2 separate regions of the Homo sapiens genome follow, and region 1 is linked to region 2. Evidence: promoter capture Hi-C in human tissues and cell types (Jung and others, 2019). All regions are on one chromosome and are shown on one strand. Each heading gives the region's core, a stretch centred on a gene start or on the middle of the fragment in contact. The rest is flanking DNA. Distances are from core to core; before and after follow the strand shown.

Region 1 (3,378 bases), core at 91-2,590, 320 kb after region 2:
CTGGGATTACAGGCGTGAGCCACCGCGCCCGGCCCACCTGACTATTTTTTATTGTTTTTTTTTTTTTTTGGTGGAGACAGGTCTCATTTTGTTTCCCAGGCTGGTCTCAAAAACTCCTGGAAGATTTTAATTTTTAGGAATGTCTTTCTAATAACAGTATGGAAATGGTGTAGAGGAAATGAGATTGGAAGTAGGAGATTAATAAAGGAGATATTAAAATCCAAGAAAGAATAACGACCTGGCTTGGACAAAGGTAATGCTATGAGATTAGAGATTAGGAGGTAAAATTAGGAGCATCTCAGGATGGATGTGATAAGGTGGACAAGAACACAGATTTGGCATGATTGCTGGTTTCTAGCTTCTGGGATAGGGATAGATATTGGGGAATGAATGAAGGGAGCAGATTATAGTTTGAGGGTGGGAAAAAGAATATTTTAAACATCTTGGAGGTATTCAAGGAACATTCAAGTATAAGATGTTTTATTAAGTATCTGAGTACTATTTGAAAATCATTAGGTTTGGGCATATAGGGATGAACAAAACATGTCCCCTGCCCTCTTAGATATTATAGATCATTGAGGGAAGAAACAAAGTAAATGGCACTTTTCACAGTAAGGATCGATGAAGGAAAAGAAGAGCGTGGATGAGAAGATGGCAAGGGAACCAAAATTAGAACATGGAATTTGGGGGATGCTGCCAGGGAAGCTTAGCTACGTGGAAGTAGCTAATGGTGAAGCTCATTCTGTAAGAAAACCATATGTGAAAGCACAGATAATGAGGGGGAACAAGACTTGGCCTCCAAGTAAGAAATAATACTGGAAAATAATTACCAAGAATACATAGATGAGGGATGGAGTTAGAGAGGTAGGCAAGGACCAAACATTTCATAGCACGGGACCTTAGAGGGTCTTGTTTAAGATCCTGTCTTGGGCACAAGTAGAATCTATTGAAGGATTTTGAAGAAGAGGTCTGGTTTATCTTCTGTTGTGTAGGGAATATTAGTGATGAGAACTAAGAGGGCAAGTAGGGCAGTAAGTTTGGAGACCTATTAGAGTAGGCCACTGTCTCAATCTCTTGAAGAAAATAATCATCCCAAGCCTAACAATAACTTGCCCTGGTTTTTCAAATGAGTTTTTATTGGGTGTATTAATGAGCAAAATCAGTCTGAGTAAGATAGGTTGAGAACTGATGAGGCTCCAGGAAATTACTAATTATTTCTGATACCTTGTTGGGTCATATAATGGCTTTCTGATTTGGCAGAAAAAAGTAGCAGGACATTAATTTATGGAAGTATTCTAAACACTTGACTATGTCCAACACTGTTAAAGTTGTGAGTTTGTGTTAACTTAATCATCATCAAAACCTTGAGTAGGAGTAGATACTGTTATTCATGTTTTAGAGGTGAGAATATTGGAGTACAGAATTTAAATAACTTGCCTAAAGTTAAACTGCTTTAGTGGTTTAGCATGGATTCAACCCTGGGATTAAGGGTGCAGATTTCAACACTTAATGATAGTAGACTCCTTTCGTCACTTTGATATGTTGAACTTTTTTTTTTTTTTGAGACATAGTCTCGCTCTGTCACCAGGCTGGAGTGCAGTGGCATGATCTCTGGCTCACTGCAACCTCCGCCTCCTGGGTTCAAGCGATTCTTGTGCCTCCGCCTCCTGAGTAGCTGGGATTGCAGGCATGCACCACCACACCCAGCTAATTTTTATATTTTAGTAGAGATGGGGTTTCACCATGTTGGCCAGGCTGGTCTAGAAATCCTGACCTCGTGATCCGCCCACCTCGATTTCCCAAAGTGCTGGGATTACAGGCGTGAGCCACTGTGTCCGGCTGAGCATTCTAGAAAAACAGATTTTAGTTTGGTTAAAGTTCCAAAGAACAACTTTGGACTTTTATTATTAAAATTTTAAAACTAAATATGTTTATATTTTTGCCCTTGATTTCCCAACACCTTAAATGGCTTAAAGATGTGTATATGTGCAAGGTAGTTAATGTTTAGGTAGATGTATCTTGGTAAAATGTTACCATGGTTGTGATGGCATTGTTAATAGGGAAGCAAGCACATTTTAAAAGTGAGCTTTAGGCCAGTTGCAGCAGTTTATGCCTATAATCCCAGCACTTTGGGAGGCTGAAGTTGGAGGATAGCTTAAGGCCAGGAAAGTCTGGCAACATAGCAAGAGCCTGTCTACAAAAAGCTGGGCACGGTGGCACACAGCTGTAGTGTAGCTCCCTGGGAGGCTGAGGCGGTAGAATTAATTGAGTTCAGGAGTTTGAGGTCAGTGTGAGTTATGATTGCGCCACTGTACTCCAGCCTGGGTGACAAGAGTGAGACCCTATCTCTTAAAGTAAAAAAACAAAAGTGAGCTATCTTTTTTTTTTTTCTAAGACTTATAAAACCGAAGTGAACTTCAGTTAGAAAAAAATTATTTGTGGTTAAAAAAGAACCACGGAGACGGATGCATTAACTAAGCCCAGGGGTCCTTTTTCAATCCTCATCTCACTTGACCTGTTGGTTCCATTTAACCAGATCTCTTCCTTGAAACGTTTTTATTTTTTTTTTACTTTGCTTCCAGGTTTTTGTTACATGTTTCTGTTACATGTTAAACTTCTTTCTGTTGGAGTGCCCCATGGTTCAGTCCTTCCACTTCTCTTTTCTGTCCACACTCTGGGTCCAATTTCATTCAGATTCATTCATGATGTAATATACCACCTATAAGCTGATTTCGACACTTAAGATCAACAGCCTATACTTTTCTTTCGAATGTCATACCAATTCAGTTTACCTGCATGACAACTCTGTTGAATATCCAATATGTCAACTTAAAAGTGCAAAACTGTGCTCCTGATGTTCATGCCTCAAACCAGTCTCTTGTGTACTGTTGCCTTTTTCAGTTAATGAAACAATTTTTGTGTCTCTTGGGCCAAAGATTTTGGCTAGCCATCCTTGACTTTTACTCTTCTCACCTTTGGCCTATTAGAAAATCATGTTGGCCAGGTGTGGTAGCTCAGGCCTGTAATCCCAGCACTTTGGGAGGCTGAGGGAGGCGCATCGCTTGAGCTCAGGGGTTTGAGACCGGCCTGGGCAACATGGTGAAACCCTGTCTCTTCAAAAATATACAAAAATTAGCCAGGAGTGGTGGCAAGTGTCTGTAGTCCCAGCTACTTGAGAGACAGGCATGAGAATCGCTTGAGCCCAGGAAGCAGAGGTTGCAGTGAGCCGAGATCGCACCCGCACCATTGCACTCCAGCCTGGGTGACAGAGCAAGACCCTATCACAAAAAAAAGAAAGGAAAAAATGCTGTCAGCTCTTCAAAATATACCACTACTCATACTGTCGACACTTGGTCCAATTTCAAGCCACCCTTGTCT
Region 2 (3,859 bases), core at 808-3,307:
AAAGCCACACACACAGACTTTCAGCCATTTCTCCTCACTGATTAGCCACAAACATGCTTCGTGTTTCCCCACATCAGCTCTGTTCACCTGTGGGCCAAATTTGGCCTGCCCCGTGTGTTCTGTACAACCTGTTAAGAACTTACTTTTTTTTTTTTTTTTAACAAACGATCTCACTCTGTCACCCAGGCTGGAGTACAGTGGTACAATCACGACTCACTGCAGCCTCATCCTCTCAGGCTAAAGTGGTCCTCCTACATCAGCTGCCCAAGTAGCCGGGACCATAGGCATGTGCTACCACATCTGGCTAATTTTTTTTTTTTTTTTTTTTTTGGTAGAGAAAGGGTCTCACTATATTCACTATGCTGTTCTTGAACTCCTGGGCTCCACCTTCGCCTCCCAAAGTGCTGGGATTACAGGCATGAGCCACTGCACCCTGCTAGAACTTACATTTCTTAAGTTGTTGAAAAAAGCAAAATGAAAATAATATTTCATGATACATGAAAATTATGACATTCAAATTATAGTATCTATAAGTAAAGTATATAATTAAGTAAATAAATAAAACCATGCCGGGGTTGGGCTAGGTGGCTCACTCCTGTAATCCCAGCACTTTGGGAGGCTGAGGCGGGCAGATTGCCTGGGGTCAGGAGTTCTAGTCCAGCCTGGCCAACATGGTAAAACCCTGTTTCTACTAAAAGTACAAAAATTAGCTGGGCATGGTGGTAGGTGCCTGTGATCCCAACTACTCGTGAGGCTGAGGCAGGAGAATCACTTGAACTCCGGAGGCAAAGGTTGTAGTGAGCCGTGATCACACCACTGCACTCCAGCCTGGGCAACAGAGTGAGACTCCGTTTCAAAAAAAAAAAAAACCCATGCCCATTTGTATGTGTATTTTATGGCTGCTTTCCCATACAATGGCAGAGTTGAGTAGCTGCAACAGAGACTGTATGGTCCTCAAGGCCAAAAACATTTATTATCTGCCTCTTTAGAGAGAAAGTGTGCTTTCCTCTGCTTTAGACACTTTAACACAATTGTGGCTTGGAAGCTACAGAGACCTCCACAAAAGTTTGGTGGAAAAAATAATAAAACTAAACCATATTCAAGATGTTCTTTTACAACACAGACCATCTCTGGACATTTGAAGACAGTTGGGAAAAATGTTGCGACAACACCAAATTTAAGTCTAGAAGAAAATAAGTTAGACCAAATTCAAAGTATTCAAGGAAACAAGACCAAGAAATACTAAGAAAAATAACAGGCCGGGGGCAGTGGCTTGCACCTGTAGTCCCAGCATTTTGGGAGGTAGAGGGAGGAGGATCACTTGAGCCCAGGAGTTCAAGACCAGCCTGAGCAATCTAGTGAGACCTCGTCTCTACGAAAAATTTAAAAATTAGTCAGGTGTGGTGGTATGTGCCTGTAGTCCCAGCCACTTGGGAGGCTGAGGTGGAAGAATCGCTTGAGCCTAGGAGGATGAGGCTGCAGTGAGCCGTGATCACGTCGCTGCACTCCAGCCTGAGCGACAGAGCAAGACCCTGTCTCAAAAAATAAATAAATAAATAAAATTGTAAAATTAAAAAAGAAAAATCACTGTTCAGGGAGCTTGACTTAAAACATTACAGATGATAGTTGGATCAGATGACCTCTAATGTCCCTCCAACCCTGAAATTCTGTTTCTTCTAGTCTGTGAAGGTCTATGTTAGCACCTTAGTAATTCAAAGTGTGAATTTCTTAAAATGTGAATGCACCAATAAGAACACATCTCTTGCCAAGTAACAACCATGTTAGCTTTTTCTTCTCTTTTTTTCCAAATTTGCTTTGGAACAGAAAGAAAACCACAGATCTGAAGATTTCAACGAGACCTGTTAAGCCCCACAGACTTTGTCGCACCTGCTGTTACAAAATTGGAAAAAGCTAGAAACCCAGAGAGTCTCCTAGGAAACAAACTATGGATATTGGTCTTGCCTATCACAGGAGTGCTATTACAATATTCCCCAAGCTAAAGGTCTCACACATAAAAACTGACTCTGAGGGAAATAGAAGAAGTAGTAGAACACAGGAGAGACCAACCTTAACAGTTATCTTCAGTAAGAGCCACAGCTCCTCCCCCAGTTCATAAGGAAGCTGGAAGCAGATATCTCTACAAATAAGCAGGCAAATAATAAATTAAGTTTCCATAGTTTGACTCTTTACTTTGATCCAGCCAAAAGTAATTAGTTGGGTCTTCTGCCACGAGCTCTTCACAATAATTGCTGCTGACCTATGAGATATTCAAGATTCCTTAGGAATAGATTTGTATCCTTTCTCTCCGTCTGCAAGAAGAGTTTTTGATGGATGCTGACACCTTCAGGTGAGTTCCTCTTCTCAAAATAGCACCTGCCACTGTTCTAATCCCATTTTTCAGAGATAAATGTTAAGTCCAAACATTGTGTAAGGGGTTTCTCTACTCTGAGTCACTTCATCTCTCAATATTCTTACTTGTTTAGTTACTCAGTATAGTTCTTTTTCTGCTGTCACAAAAATTTTCTTTGCTGTTCTGCTCATATGACTATGTAACTACCATTTAGCCTTTTTATAAATAGTGGCTAATAGGCCAAGCATGTTGGCTCACACCTGTAATCCCAGCACTTTGGGATGCCAAGACGGGCGGATCACCTGAGGTCAGGAGTTCAAGACCAGCCTAACCAACATGGTAAAACCCCATCTCTACTAAAAATACAAAAATTAGCTGGGGGTGGTGGTACACGCCTGTAATCCCAGCTACTTGGGAGGCTGAGGCAGGAGAATCACTTGAACCTGAGAGATGGAGGTTGCAGTGAGCCAAGATGGCACAACTGCATTCCAGCCTGGGCAACAGAGAGAGACTCCATCTCAAAAATAAAAATTAAAATTAAAAAAATTAAAAAATTAAAAAATAGTGGCTAATATTGGATAACACTATTTCCCCCAGGCCTTTAATTGGCTAAATTTTTCTCCAAAGCTATTCTCCATTAAAAGTCCATTCACTGGTTTTAATACCAACCAGACTAGGAAGAGCATCTTCGAGTTCTGTGGTGGTGCCACCCTTGCTCTGTTCTTTTTGTCCTCACCAGGTCCCTTCCACCTATAAGACAAGTTCTCTGCCCAAAATTTGAAAAATGGACATGAGTAAAGCTATAACCTGATTTCTTTGTTGGCAAATATTTTAAACAGACAATTCTAACTCATTGCTAATAAGGGTTTTACATTTTAATAGAAATTGTCTCATGTCTCTCAATTTAATAACTCAAACTTTTCTCATATTATATATGTATATATTTGTTCCATTGTTATTCATCTTTAAATTATTTTCCATTTTATATGTCTTATTGTGAAATTTATTTTAAAAAGAAATTAATTATATTAGTTTTCCAAATATTTGAAATGCTTTTTATAAATAAAAAAGTGTGCTTTGAGTCGATTTTCAGAAAATAATAAAATTTTTAAAGTTTTCTTCATGGCCATTTGAAAGATGGGTTAGGGATACAGTTTGGGACCAGAATTAAGTAAAATTCATTTGCTGAAATGAGGTTAAGCCTGTGCCCTTCGCCTCATTAGAAAAGATGTCTAATCTCCTTGGTTGCTCAAAATTATACACTTTTATTTAGTTTGTGGTCCCCTAATATTTCTCATATATTTTTCAAACATTCATGTACTAGATGGTCTTTATTTTATTTTGTTTATTTATTATTTATTTATTTATTTTGAGATGGAGTTTCATTCTTGTTGCCCAGGCTGGAGTGCAATCGCACGATCTCAAGTCACTGCAACCTCTGCCTTCCGGGTTCAAGCTACTCTCCTGCCTCAGCCTCCTGTGTAGCTGGGATTACAGGCTCATACCACT

What was found. Contacts are between HindIII fragments. The study calls those that stand out against the background at their distance.
Region 1: a fragment that was not itself captured here is called in contact with the fragment with the promoter of OR10G3 in region 2 in 2 of the 25 tissues and cell types used here (aorta and lymphoblastoid cells).

The regions. Positions count from the first base shown.
Region 1 is chr14:21,256,574-21,259,951 of GRCh38, reverse strand. All of the region lies in intron 2 of HNRNPC (heterogeneous nuclear ribonucleoprotein C), which reads left to right. Among named protein-coding and RNA genes, the nearest start is that of HNRNPC, 11 kb to the left of the region's middle. The HindIII fragment of the contact is 7,394 bases long and covers 1-3,378 here.
Region 2 is chr14:21,578,274-21,582,132 of GRCh38, reverse strand. It overlaps OR10G3 (olfactory receptor family 10 subfamily G member 3), which reads left to right and starts at 2,057. Exons shown (of 2, transcript NM_001005465.2): 1 at 2,057-2,347. The HindIII fragment of the contact is 16,961 bases long and covers 1,851-3,859 here.